Linked DNA regions of Homo sapiens: regions 2 and 3 are each linked to region 1. The links are contacts of gene promoters, found by promoter capture Hi-C in human tissues and cell types (Jung and others, 2019). All regions are on one chromosome and are shown on one strand. Each heading gives the region's core, a stretch centred on a gene start or on the middle of the fragment in contact. The rest is flanking DNA. Distances are from core to core; before and after follow the strand shown. Region 1 overlaps PRKAR2A (protein kinase cAMP-dependent type II regulatory subunit alpha). Region 2 holds the start of DALRD3 (DALR anticodon binding domain containing 3). Region 3 holds the start of P4HTM (prolyl 4-hydroxylase, transmembrane).

Region 1 (4,518 bases), core at 1,473-3,972:
TTTAAAAACAAAAACAATGGAGACATCTTAACCAAGCAAAAAAAGATTTGGTATGCTCTTTACAGCACAAGAGCTGTGAGCCCCAAATAAGAAATGACATATCAATTAAAAAAAAACAAACTCCATTTTAAGATTTTTGTTTCTTTTGAAAGCATTAGCATGTAGAGTTGCTATGCCACTGAGAAAGTGGAAGATTCTTATTCCTCCAAACACATAAATCTTGCAATCTACAAGAGGGGAGAAATCCAGCAGAGGAGAGAAATTGTTTTCCATTCCCAAATGTGCTAATTAATTATACATAAATATTAACACTCTCTACAGCCAAAAGGTACCATCTAACAAACTCTACTATCTCAGCTGCCCTCTGCTCTGATGCAAAGTTGTAAAGAGGCAGATCAGATTTCTCTATCATTTACATGCCAGCCAGGCAGGTAGGCACTTCCAACCATACCCAAGGCATCCTGTTAAAAGCAAAAATCAGCCTATTAAGAAACCAAAAGCCGAAGAGCTGCCCTGCCGAATTATTTGTACAAGAATTATCTGCTATATTTTCAAATAATCAAAACTATACCACTAATCTTTAGTCTGTCATTTTACAATATAAGCCATTCATTTTTAATATCTGACAACACTCTGGAGAACAAAGCAAGGGTAACAGTAATAAGATTTCACCACAAAAGACAGGTTTGCATTCTAGCTTCAGAACTTAAACCTGGCCAGGTGCAGTGGCTCACACCCATAATCTTTGGGAGGCCAAGGCAGGGAGGACTGCTTGAGCCCAGGAGTTCGAGACAAGTTTGGGCAACAGAGTGAGACCCTGTCTCTACAAAAAAAAAATGTTTTAATTAGCCAGGCACAGTGGTGTGCACCTACAGTGCCAGCTGCTTGGGAGGCTGAGGTGGGAGGATGGCTTGAGCCAGGGAGCTTGAGCTGTGATTACACCACTGCACTCCAACCTGGGTGACACAGCAAGACCCTGTCTCAAAAAAAAGAAAAGAGAACTTAAACTTCTCTGAGCCTCAGTATTCTCACAAATTCAATAAGGGTAGTACTACTTACCACAAATGACCCGAGGGCAGACTTAATGACCCTATGTATAGAAGTACTGAGACAGTAAAATGTTAGGGATATCATAGTTTTGTGGAGGGTTTGTTTGCTGGTTTTTCAAAATTATCTATCTTTAAAATACTGCAGTTTCACATTTTTTTTCACAGCTGCTATTCTGCCACGTATACCCTGTTCAAACACTTTTTTTTTTTTGAGACAGAGTTTCGCTCTTGTTGCCCAGGCTGGAGTGCAGTGGTGCAATCTCTGCTCACTGCAACCTCCCACTGCAACCTCCGCCTCCTGGGCTCAAGCGATTCTCCTGCCTTAGCCTCCCAAATAGCTGGGATTACAGGCGCCAACCACCACACCTGGCTAATTTTTGTATTTTTAGTAGAGACAGGATTTCACCATGTTGGCCAGGCTGGTTTCGAACTCCTGACTTCAGGTGATCCGCCAGCCTTGACCTCCCAAAGTGCTGGGATTACAGGCATGAGCCACAACGCCCACCCTCAAACATTTTTTGTTAGTTACAATTTTTGAGTCCCACTACGTGCAAGTATTATGCCAACCATTTTAAATGCATCATCACATATACCCTTCACAACAACCCTATTACCATCCCATTTTGTAGCTGAGGAGACTGAGACTCAGAGAATTGTACCCAAGGTCACACAGCTAGGAAGTGGTCAAGCCAGAATCTGAGTCATCTAAATTTGACAACTGAGGAAAAGTAAAAGTGTGAATCAATAAAATACTTGTTTTACATTTTTTGAAATAAATTCCACCATTCCATTATTTAATTATGGATCCTTAGCAATATAATGTTTATTAGAATCCCCCCAGCTTTTTCCTGTGGAAGGATCATGTTGCCTGTTTGCTTACTGCTGCCCCTACCAGACAGATGATAAGCTCCTATAGTCAAGTGCACTTTTATCCTCCCCTGTCCCAGTGCTGACCAGAGTGGACATCTGCTGAAATAACACAGGAAGGCAGTGGGGAGGCTGAAGGCCACAACAGTGTTCAGCCATACCACTGTGTCAACCCACCTCCTGTGACACTACTCCAAACCCCTACCTTCTCCTAGTTAGGTAACCAGAGTTATCCTTTAGGAGTGGCCTCTCACAGATGTGAAGTCCTTGTGGGACTTCACTCCCAACTCTGCCTACTACTTCCAATTTGGTCATAGGATAGGGTGCATGATCCAAGCCAGGCAAATCAGTGTTCTTAAGCATGGTAACTTGCTTGGAACAAGCATAGAACATTCATGGTAACTTATTCCAAAAACGGAATATGACCCAACCCAAGCCATTCCTTCTCTGGAATATTCTAAACTGGGGATACAGAATAGCTCGCTCTTTAGTTTGGATCAGGAACTGCTTTAGGCACTGTGGAGCCAATGGAGTAGATCTACCGCAAGGGAATAAGAGGGTCATACATGCATTTTGGAAAGATTATTCTAATAATAGTATCACCAATGGAATAAGACACGGAGTGGGAAGACCAGTAATGGGCCTACTGTAATATTCCTGACAAAAAAATGAAGAAAGCTTGAATGGTAACGGGAATGGAGAAAAGGGAACACATTAGGAAACATTTGGGGATTGCCTTTTGTCTCACTGGAAATACTGTCCTAAAACAGAGAACCTGACTCCTTAATTCTCTTGCACATAGATGACTACTGTGAACACTCGATTCATATGATAAGTACTTACCAAGTACCTAGAAACCAGTAAGAATGAAGTAGTTATAAGCATAGATTCTGAGCCAGGCTGCTTGGGTTCAAATCCAGTCACCTCACTTACTAGCAGTGTGACCTTGAATAAGTTACTTAACCTCTGTGCCTCACTTTCCTCATCTATAAAACCAGGATAATAATAGCACCTACCTCATAGGGTTGCTGCTGTGCAGAAAAGGAAACCCTTGAACTGGTTGATAAAAGACAAGTAGCAGTTCAGCAGAGAAACAAGAAGGGGAGGACAGCATTCCAGGCAGAAGGGAAGGCATATGCAAAGGAAAAGAAATGTGAAAAAGTGAGCTTGACTCATGACCATTGTGCTCTCCAGACCCACATTCCCAATGTTGGCTAAATGCCAGCTGGAACTCCAACTCCCTGAGTTGGACCTGAAATTCAATAGGTCCAGAATAGAACCAATAAACTTCACAGTTCCTGTTACTCCAGGCTCCCTATGTCAGGGGCAATGCCATGACCATCTCCAATCACACAGTTTTAATTACTCCCCCATTTACTCCTAAACACAGACTGTAACAGTAGGACAAGGGTGGAATGATTAGTCCAGCGTAAGCCATGCCTCACAGAAAGAGAAAGAACGTCTCCCTAAGTATAGGATCTGACTGTGGCAAGATCAGAGCAAGGAGTGGTGGGGATTGTGGGTCAAGTCAGAGATGACACAGAGCACTACTTACCCAGGGGCAGAAACTTCAACTCTAGGAACACCAGCTATCCAGACCTAAAAGGATCATTCTCTGCTGTAAAGACCAGCTTTGCTTCATGCTCCCAGAACTAGGGAAATACCTCCTCCTACCCATCCCCACTCCCTTCCAGCTATTGCTATTTTTCCTGTTACAATTCTGTATTTTCCAATCAAAACTCTTACTGATAATCCAATTTCCCAAGAATTTTTAAATATGCAAGTTCCCTGGTTTTTAGAGATATGAGTTCTTGAGAGATATGAGTTCTAGGATCAATAGAAATGATTAAACAACCAATTACAGTTATCACACCAGACACTAGATATTTAGCATACATTATCTTTAAGTTTTACCACACCCTTGAAAGACAGTCAAGAACTCCCTTTTGAATGGAAACAGGACCAGGCACAGTGGCTCACGCCTGTAATCCCAGCACTTTGGGAGGCCGAGGCGGGCGGATCGCGAGGTCAGGAGTTTGAGACCAGCCTGGCCAACATGGTGAAACCCTGTCTCTACTAAAAATACAAAAACTAGCCGGGCATGGTGGTGTGCACCTGTAGTCCCAGCTACTAGGGGACTGAGGCAGCAGAATCGCTTGAACCTGGGAGGTGAAGGTTGCAGTGAGCCGAGATTGCACTACTGCACTCCAGCCTGGGCGACAGAGCAACACTCCATGTCAGAAAAAAAAAAAAAAAAGAATGAAAACAGGGCCAGGCGCAGTGTCTCACGCCTGTAATCCCAGCACTTTGGGAGGCCAAGGCGGGCAGATCACTTGATGTCAGTTCGAGACCAGCCTGGCCAACATGGCGAAACCCCATCTCTAATATAGCTGGACATGGTGGCGCATGCCCGTAATCCCAGCTACTCAGGAGGCTGGGGCAGGAGAATCCCTTGAACCAGGGAGGCAGAGGTTGCAGTGAGCCAAGATTGCACCATTGCACTCCAGCCTGGGTGACGGGGCAAGATTCTGTCTCAAAAAAAAAAAAAAAAAAAAATGGAGTTTCCCAGCATCCAGCCTGGCACTGCCTCAGACCAGTTCTT
Region 2 (4,518 bases), core at 1,056-3,555, 200 kb after region 1:
CATGACAAAGGTGCCACTCTTTGTGCCCTTCGTGGAGATACTGCTGTCAGCCAGAGCCAGGAAGAGCTGGGGAATAGAAGCACAGCTGCAGAGAGAGAAGGCAGCCACCACACCCTGTGCCCCAACACTGGCCCTGTCAGGCTCCCAGGCTCACCTGACTCTGTGGGGCTGTGCTCAGCATCTCAAACTTGATGGTGGCCACAGAGAGAACACCAAAGATCTCTGTCCAGGCTGGGTCTGAGGGAGTATAGGGTTGGTCAGTCAGTCTGCAGGCAAGGGCAGGGATGCAAAAAACCTGCCCCTAACCCAGAACATAGCCAGGGTTTCCCAGGCACACCTTGTGCCAGATCCCCACCATGCTTCAGTGCTGAGGCCTTGCACACCTGGGTATGCCGGAACCTGTGTTTGGAAGAGAGGAAGGCCAGTGGGCAGGGTCCTGGGTAAAGAGTCCCCCCTCATTACCCTGGCTTAGGTTGGTGTTCCTCCCAGCCTCACTCACTCGTAGTACTCAGGGGCAGTCATCAGAGTGCCAGGTGCACCAGCTACTTTCACAGGGCCACAGATGAGGTGCTTCTGTCAGAAAGATGTCAGGGGCTCAGCCTAGTTGGCGCTACTCTCCAGGAAGTCCCTTGAGGAGCCCAAATCTGGTGCCTCTACTCAGCCCAGACTCCCTCAAATTGGAACTGCCAGGTTGAGTGCCTCCGTCTACCCAGCCACTCAGGCTACGCATGGTTCATCCTTCTCAACCTGGTCTTCAGTGTTCTTGGGATGTGTCTACAGACCCCCCTTCCCCAGAGCCTCTGCACCTGCTGTACATGCCCTCTCAAGTCCAGCAACTCCCCCAAGGTCAAGTGTTGGTTTCTGTCAGCTAACAAGCCCCTCGGTGGGTTTTCAAGGGCCCTCTGAGGTTGGGGGTTAGGTGGTGGGGAGCTCCACCATCATTATTAACCTACCTGTCTGAGTGGAGCCTTGTCAACCAACTTCTGCCAAAGCAGGTCCAACTTCTGTTGCTGGAACTCCTCCTCACAGCTAACAACATGTACAACCAGGCAGCCGCCTGTACCAGTATCTGAGGCCCCAGCCTAAGGGAGGACAATCATAACTGTGGAAGTACAGTATACTTGGTTTGGGAGAACCTACAGGGCTGGGAGTCACTAACCAGGCCTGGGTGGCTGTCCTCGGGCCAATGCCATAGAGCCTCTTGCAGCTCAGCCAGCACAGAGAGGAGATCCTCAGTCACTGAAAAGAGAACAGACAGGTGCTGAGACTGACAAGAAGCAGAGATGTGCCCCTAACCCCCTCCTGCCTTTTCTGGCCCTGCTAGGCTTCAGGTCCTACCCAGACAGTTGTCCAGGTTGGGGTCATAGCCAGCTGTGCGGCCCTGTTCTTCCACCAGCTCCTTCAGACACAGTCTGCCTAGGATGCCAGGGGACAGTGTCCTCCCGTCATTAGCAGAGGTAAGTTCTTCAAGGGCGTGGCTCCTCAGGGTGTGGGAGGAAGCTCTCTCCGAGGCAGCGGGCCAGTCCACCCGCAGTTGCTGCAGGAAGGTCAGCATGTGCGGATCCCGCACAGCTGGCACTAGGCGCACGCACACCCTGCGAAGGGAGGGCGGCCGCCTCAGTCTGAGCACCTGGTCCAGCTCGCCACGACTTCCCACCTCCAGCCGCAGTCCCCACGGGCGGCGCCGCTCGCTTTCTAGGTACCCGGCAGTCCCACTTTCTCCATTCCGGCCCCGCGGCCCCGCTCACCCGTGAGCGCGCAGGGCTCGCGCCAGGTGATCGGCCACGAGCACCGTACGCAGCTGGCTCAAGCGGAGTGCGCAGGGGGAGCTGCGCAGTGCTGGGCAGTGTAGTAAGACGCGCTGGCCCAGCGAGGCAGGCGAGGCGGGCGTGGCATAGGCGGCCACGGCGCTGAGGACGCGCTCGAAGACGGCGGACCGCTGCAGTTGGAGAGACAGACCCGCGGGGGTCGGCGCGCAGCGCAGCACCGGGGCCACACCGGGGCCCTGCAGGCAGGCGAGGGCATGGAGCAAATGCTCCGGAACCTGCGGGAGAACGGGCGTGTAAAAGAGCCACGGCACGGGGCCCATCTCCCGGCCGCACGGCCCCGCCCGGCTCACGCCCACCTGGCCGTCATCGAAGCGCGCCTGCAGCGCGCGGTGCGGTGCCAGAAAGTCTCGGGAACGCAGGTGGCGGGTGCGCGTCTCCTTGATCCACACCGGACCGCCTGGCCCCAGGGCCGCGTTGAGGGCCCCCAGCGTCTCCCCGACCCCAAGGCGCCTGGTCGCCATGGTGACCGGAAGGAGTAAGCGGAACCGGAAAAAAATTTAGGGAGGTGGAACTTCCGGAAAGGACCGACTAGCTGGGGCGGGGATGCGGCGGTGGTCCCCGTAAGTGGACAGGTGCGCCAGTGGTAGCCCTGTCGGCTGCTTTCGACCTACCGCCCCCAGCGCCCCTTCCGCGTGGTCCACCTGCACAGCCGGGCCCCGGATCTGAAATCTCGGGGCCCTCCCTGGGCCTAGGGTTCTTTCGCTGTGACCCAGGCCTTAACCAGGAAAAGGATCCTCGCGACCCGGTGGGCGCTTAGACCGGGTACCGTCTCTTCTCATCGAAGTCTCACATGTTTGTTTTAATAACATTTCATTTCTCCCATTTTACACATGATGAATATTCGTCACTGGAATAAGGCAGTATAACATTAAGGCCACTTTCACGACCTACTTAAAATATCTCGTTTTAAAAAGAATAGTGTTCCGCGGTTTCAGGTTATTTGCAAGCATTTTCTCGTTTGAGATATGGGTGTTTTTTTGTTTGTTTGAGACGGAGTCTTGCTCTTGTCTCCCAGGCTGGAGTGCAGTGGCACGATCTCGGCTCACTGCAGCCTCCACCTCCCGGATTCACAGGATTCTCCTCCTCAGCCTCCCGAGTAGCTGGGATTACGGGCGCCCGCCACCACGCCCGGCTAATTTTTGTATTTTTAGTAGAGACGGGGTTTCGCCATGTTGGCCAGGCTGGTCTCGAACTCCTGACCTCGTGACCTGCCCGCCTCGGCCTCCGAAAGTGCTGGGATTACAGGCATCAGCCACTGCACCCAGCCCGGGTGGTCTTTATGCCCAATAAATAAGCACTCTGATACAGTTGGCGGTTTTCTTCTCTTGATACCTGAGAAATCACAACCATCATGATGGCTTCCAGAATTACCAGACTTTTTTTTTTTTTTTTTGAGACGGAGTTTCGCTCCTGTTGCCCAGGCTGGAGTACAGTGGTGTGATCTTGGCTCACCGCAACCTCCCCCTCCCGGGTTCAAGTGATTATCCTGCCTCAGTCTCCCAAGTAGCTGGGATTACAGGCACGCGCCACCACGCCCGGCTACTTTTGTATTTTTAATAGAGACGGGGTTTCTCCATGTTTGTCAAGCCTCGAACTCCCGACCTCAGGTGATCCGCCTGCCTCGGCCTCCCAAAGTGCTGGGATTACAGGCGTGAGCCACCGCGCCCGGCTCAGAATGACCAGCTTTTAATGTGACTCCTTTAACCTGGTGTGCTTTAACAACGATCCTTAAAGCTTCCTGTTTTAGGCAACAGCCATTTACGGGCCAACCAAATAATGCGACCATAATAGAAAATAGGCCTCAGTTGGAGTATCTTGCTCCTCTACCAATAGGAAAGGTCTTTTTCTTTCTCCCACAAAGGTTCCCAAATGTCTTCATTTCACTGTAACTTACTCACCCCCCACCCCACCCCCATTCCTTTTAATAGAGAAGCTAACTCAGTAGAGAGAGTTGGGAAATCCGGAGAGCAGGGAAACCCAGGGGCAGGAAAAGCTTGGCAAGGCCCCTTTCTGGGCCAGGGCTGAGGCCCTGCTGGGAGGCGCCGAAAGAGCACTGGGCGGACACGACATTCCCGATGGCTTCTCGGGTGCCCACTCAACGGGAGTGATCGTGTCATTCCAAAGCGCTTTCCATTCTGAAGGTGCATGACCTGGAGACAACTGCTTAGCAGGGTTGGGAACCCTCAGTCAAACTGAGGACTTCAGATACTCTCATCCACGAAGACGGTTGGGGTGGTTTTTCCCCAGGAAGTAAGAGGGCTATCTTTAGCGAGATGCGGGCTGAGGCAGCCCTGGGGGAGTCACTACCATTGCAGCCCTACCCAGAGGTCCTGGGTCCACCCTCCCTCGCCAATCCTCCCCAGGGTTCCAGAGATGGCCACCAGCCTCGGCTCTCCCACGTCTACACCCATCACCTCCAGCCTGAGGGCGCAACTGAGAGGAACTGAGACCCAAGCAGCTCAGTAAAGTATGTCTGGGGGTCAGGGGCACCCCATCTGGGCCAGGGCGCTGCTCAGGCAGGAGAGCAGGGGACGAAATCCAAGCGCAGCTGGAATGCTCTGGAGACAACAGCTGCTTTTGGGATTCCGTTGCCCGCTGTCCAGCCGTTGGCGGGGGGCGGGGGAGCTCCTGCCCCCAGGTCACTCGCCCTGGGGCCACATCAGAACCCGCCCATCCCCAGTCCCAGGAG
Region 3 (4,518 bases), core at 1,415-3,914, 170 kb after region 1:
TAAAAAAAAAAAAAAAAAAAAAAAAGGCCAGGCACAGTGGCTCACTCCTGTAATCCCAGCACTTTGGGAGGCCAAGGCAAGGAGATCGAGAACATCCTGGCTAACACAGTGAAACCCCATCTCTACTAAAAAACAAATACAAAAAAATTAGCCGGGCGTGGTGGCAGGCACCTGTAGTCCCAGCTACTCAGGAGGCTGAGGCAGGAGAATGGCGTGAACCCGGGAGGCAGAGCTTGCAGTCAGCCGAGATGGCACCACTGCACTCCAGCCTGGGCGACAGAGCGAGACTCCACCTCAAAAAAAAAAAAGAATACAGATCAATAGAAGGCCTGGATTTGGTAGTATGTATTGTCATGGCATCAAAGGGCCAGGCTTTTAAAAGACTGAGAAATTCTGGTTTCTGATGTGGTTGTGAAATTCCCACAGCTGACAGCAGGTGGAGCAGCCCTGCAACCTGCTTGCTTTCTGTTGTCTGGCAATGAGCTATCAGTACCTGTGCTTAGTGGTAGGCCTAGTTCAGGTAATAGGTGTAAGAATGGAGTTCAGGAAAATAGGTTAAGCAAAGTACAGATTTTATGGTGATCAAATTCTAGTTTTTAAAAGGCTAGAGGGGCCGGTCGCGGTGGCTCATGCCTGTAATCCCAGCACTTTGGGAGGCCAAGGCGGGCGGATCACGAGGTCAGGAGTTTGAGACCAGCTTGGCCAACATGGTGAAACCCCATCTTTATTAAAAATATAAAAATTAGCTGGGCGTGGTGGCACGTGCCTGTAATCCCAGCTACTTGGGAGGCTGAGGCAGGAGAATTGCTTGAACCCGGGAGGCAGAGGTTGCAGTGAGCCGAGATGAAGCCACTGCACTCCAGCCTGGGTGACAGAGCAAGACTCTGTCTCGGGGAAAAAAAAAAAAGGCTAGAGGGAAATAGTCTCAACTTCATTCCAGAAAAGGTATGAGAAAGCCATGAGATCCTTGGTAAAATTATGGTTCTGTTGGTTGGTTTATTATATTTAAGAATTTAGGAGATTTGGTCTGGGTGTGGTGCCTTATGTCTGTAATTCCAGCACTTTGGGAGGCCAAGGTGGGTGGAACACCTGAGGTCACGAGTTTGAGACCAGCCTGGCCAACATGGTGAAACCCTGTCTCTACTAAAAATATAAAAATTAGCCGGGCATTGTGGCGGGCACCTGTAGTCCCAGCTACTTGGGAGGCTGAGACAGGAGAATTGCTTGAACCCGGGAGGCGGAGCTTTCGGTGAGCTGAGATCACACCACTGTACTCCAGCCTGGCGACAGAGCGAGACTCTGTATCAAAAAAAAAAAAAAAATTATAATTAAAAAATTAAAACTAAATAATAATAAATAAAAATACAAAAAAAAAAATTGGCCCGCCATGGTGGCGCATGCCAGCTACTTGGTAGGCTGAGGCAGGAGAATTGCTTGAACCCGGAAGGCAGAGGTTGCAGTGAGCCAAGATCGCGCCACTGCACTCCAGCCTGGGCGACAGAGTGAGACTCCGTCACACACACACAAAAAATCTTAGAAGAAAGAGGTGGGCCTGCCCTTGGAGCCCCTGGCCTGCCTTGACTTGAGGGGACTAGAAAATGCAGACTATGCTTTGCTATGGGGAAGGGAGAGGAGATGGGAGTAGAGGTAGTGGGGGTCTTAACCAGGGTAGGGAGAAACCACCAGTGTGACCTGCCTTAAAAGTGTTGCTCTTGCCTGCAAGTCCACCTCGGGGAGGGGGGTCAGCTTCTGCCCTGAGGGCGTGTAGTAATCTCTTCCTGAGGATAACCAGCTCTAGAAGAGCAGGGATGCCTTGGCACTTGACCACTGGTAGGTATGTCCTCCCCCCACCCCCGTTTTTGGTGATAATCTGTTTAATTTTTCTCTGAGGTAATGGTGTCTCAGTTATGGAAGAGTCCCTTCCCGCCTCTTCACACGTGCCAGCTTTGATGCAAGGAGTGTTCCATATACCTGAGCACTGGTTCATTCCTGCGGGCTGCCATGGGGGGCTCACTTTCCTGATGCCAGGGCTCCTCCAGGATGCCCCCTCTGACGGCCTATGAAACCTTGCACATCAGGCAGCTTCTTCCTAAGGCCTGCCTGACTCCGGCGAGACTTCCCGGGAGATCCGGACCGACCGCGGAACCGAGCTCCAAGAATGCCTGCGAGGAGGCTGTGGGTCCTACCCTATCGCCGCTTACGCAGTCCCAGCCTCCGCGGCGCCCCCAAATGCCGCACTGTTGAGTCATCTCAGCGCTGCCTCCTCCGCGCTGCGCTCCCCACCCCCGCTCCTGGAGCAAGAAGATGCAGACGATACTTTTCCCGGAGGCAAGAGGGCGTCTTCACGCAGGCACCGAGAAGCTCCCACTAGTGTATGCCTTAATGGTGCCGCTCTTGTCCGCGTCTACGCTTGGGACCTTGGCTTCTGACTTGGAGAGTGTACAGCTCTGCCCGACGGCAACCCAGCTTGGGAAGAGAAGCCCCAGCGTGGGCTGGGGCTCAAGGCGCAGGAAGGCCGAGCCCGGCGCGGACGCAGGCGGCTCCGGGCGGGCTCAGCACCCCCAGGCACCGTCTCCTAGTGACCGCGGCGCTCGCGGGCCTGGCGGCCGTTGTCCGGGCGACTGCGCAGCGCGGGCACCCCCGCGGCCCCTCCCCTGGGCGCGCGCGCGACCTGGGTGCCATGGCGGCAGCGGCGGTGACAGGCCAGCGGCCTGAGACCGCGGCGGCCGAGGAGGCCTCGAGGCCGCAGTGGGCGCCGCCAGACCACTGCCAGGCTCAGGCGGCGGCCGGGCTGGGCGACGGCGAGGACGCACCGGTGCGTCCGCTGTGCAAGCCCCGCGGCATCTGCTCGCGCGCCTACTTCCTGGTGCTGATGGTGTTCGTGCACCTGTACCTGGGTAACGTGCTGGCGCTGCTGCTCTTCGTGCACTACAGCAACGGCGACGAAAGCAGCGATCCCGGGCCCCAACACCGTGCCCAGGGCCCCGGGCCCGAGCCCACCTTAGGTCCCCTCACCCGGCTGGAGGGCATCAAGGTGAGGACCTCCCTGCCCCGCCGCGCTCCAGGCCCTGCACGGCTGAGCCCGAGAGGACCGGCGCTCAGCCCGGGTCCCCACGCTGCCCCCGGCGCTGCTCTGCGTCGGTCCCGCGCGCTCCCACTCACTCGCCTGCTGTCGCTCTCCGGGCCGGGGCGACTTGGCCCTTCTTGGGCAGCGCGGTCTGGCGCCCCAGCTGCCCGCTGTGCGCCTTTTCCTTAGGTGGGGCACGAGCGTAAGGTCCAGCTGGTCACCGACAGGGATCACTTCATCCGAACCCTCAGCCTCAAGCCGCTGCTCTTCGGTAAGTCCGCCAGATACTCCTGGGAAGGGCCAGGGGCTGCGGTTTGGTGGCCACCTTGAGGCTCGTTGTGACCACGTGACCTCTATTTTGAAAATGGCTGCTTCAGAGCAGCCCTTCCAGAGGATTACCAAAGTGAAGGACCTTCCCCGTCCTCGAAATAGGGTAACACTCCCTCTTATCCCAACTCCCTGCAGTCCATTCTTCCATCACAGGGCTGGCAGGGTGAGCCTGAGGCTGGTGTCTAAACGTTTCATTGCACCTGTCTTCCGTGCCACCATTAATTCTGTCACCTTCTAGAACTGGGAGGAAGGTGGGAGACTGATAACCAGCTTTCTGCCGACCTCAGGACCTCTGGGGAAAATCCCACTGCCGAAGTGGGCCTTGTGGTCTGATGAGAAGCAGGCCGTCCAAATGTAGATAAACTGGTACCCCCCCAGCCTCCTCCACTGGAGTACCAGTCAGAGGCTCAGCTTTTGCTGCCAGCACTCTGAGATTCTTCTTAAGGTGAAGTCTTTGTTCAGCCATCATGGGCAAAGCTTTCTAGGGTGACTCCAGTTGGAGCCACAACATAGCTCATCGTTTCTGAGCTCTAGTTATGTGCTTGCCTTCATATGATTATTTCATTTAATTCCTGCAACCCCTCTGTGAAGTGGGTGTAGATCCTACTCAGGCCAGTGAGGGGGAAAGTTAGGGACAGAGAGCTGCTGTGGCTTGGCCAGGCTGACACGGTTACTTCAGTGGTGAAGCTAGGATTAGAACCCACATAGCCTGCCTCTAAGGCCTATGCAGTAAAGCCACAGTGCGAGCTGTGAAGACCCCAGAGTCCTTCAAAGACCACCAGTGTCAACTGGGTGGGGACCCCTAGTCCCATGGACATTGTCCAGGGTGTTTGTGTAGCCCAGCCCTGGGTACCTGGCCTCCGTGACAAACATATTTGCAAACCCAGGGCCATTCCTGCCTGCCGGGGGATGGAATGGGTTAGGAGCTGGGGCCAAAGTAGAACATCTGAGCACAAGTCATTACCTCCAAGGCAGAGGGTCCTGGTTGGGGATTATGCCTAGACCTGTCAGAATGATGTCATATGCATGCTGTTTGTAGGGAAATAGATTATGCTGTCAGTCCTGTTGTGGGAGAGGCACCCAAAGCTGGTTGTTGTTATTATTACTATTACTATTGAGTA

What was found. The method cuts DNA at HindIII sites, captures the fragments that hold promoters and counts their contacts. A contact is called where the count stands out against the background at its distance.
Region 2: a contact is called between the fragment with the promoter of DALRD3 here and a fragment that was not itself captured in region 1, in 1 of the 25 tissues and cell types used here (aorta).
Region 3: the fragment with the promoter of P4HTM here is called in contact with a fragment that was not itself captured in region 1 in 3 of the 25 tissues and cell types used here (liver, mesendoderm cells and psoas muscle).

What each region holds. Positions count from the first base shown.
Region 1 is chr3:48,817,760-48,822,277 of GRCh38, forward strand. The region is part of intron 1 of PRKAR2A (protein kinase cAMP-dependent type II regulatory subunit alpha); the gene reads right to left. Among named protein-coding and RNA genes, the nearest start is that of PRKAR2A, 28 kb to the right of the region's middle. The HindIII fragment of the contact is 9,279 bases long and covers 1-4,518 here.
Region 2 is chr3:49,016,275-49,020,792 of GRCh38, forward strand. It overlaps DALRD3 (DALR anticodon binding domain containing 3), which reads right to left and starts at 2,306. Exons shown (of 12, transcript NM_001009996.3): 1 at 2,126-2,306; 2 at 1,749-2,044; 3 at 1,339-1,595; 4 at 1,160-1,239; 5 at 954-1,082; 6 at 500-573; 7 at 338-399; 8 at 155-237; 9 at 1-66. The coding sequence starts at 2,290. MIR425 (microRNA 425) reads right to left here and starts at 3,960; the gene lies at 3,874-3,960. It overlaps MIR191 (microRNA 191), which reads right to left and starts at 4,435; the gene lies at 4,344-4,435. It also overlaps a transcript of NDUFAF3 not described here. RefSeq lists enhancers at 727-796, 1,082-1,853 and a silencer at 1,302-1,536. The HindIII fragment of the contact is 18,150 bases long and covers 1-4,518 here.
Region 3 is chr3:48,987,577-48,992,094 of GRCh38, forward strand. It overlaps P4HTM (prolyl 4-hydroxylase, transmembrane), which reads left to right and starts at 2,665. Exons shown (of 9, transcript NM_177939.3): 1 at 2,665-3,034; 2 at 3,257-3,338. The coding sequence starts at 2,681. It overlaps LOC124909376 (a long non-coding RNA gene), which reads right to left and starts at 2,296. Exons shown (of 2, transcript XR_007095903.1): 1 at 1,972-2,296. RefSeq lists enhancers at 1,385-1,948, 1,949-2,511, 2,259-2,418, 3,076-3,637 and a silencer at 2,529-2,908. The HindIII fragment of the contact is 19,056 bases long and covers 1-4,518 here.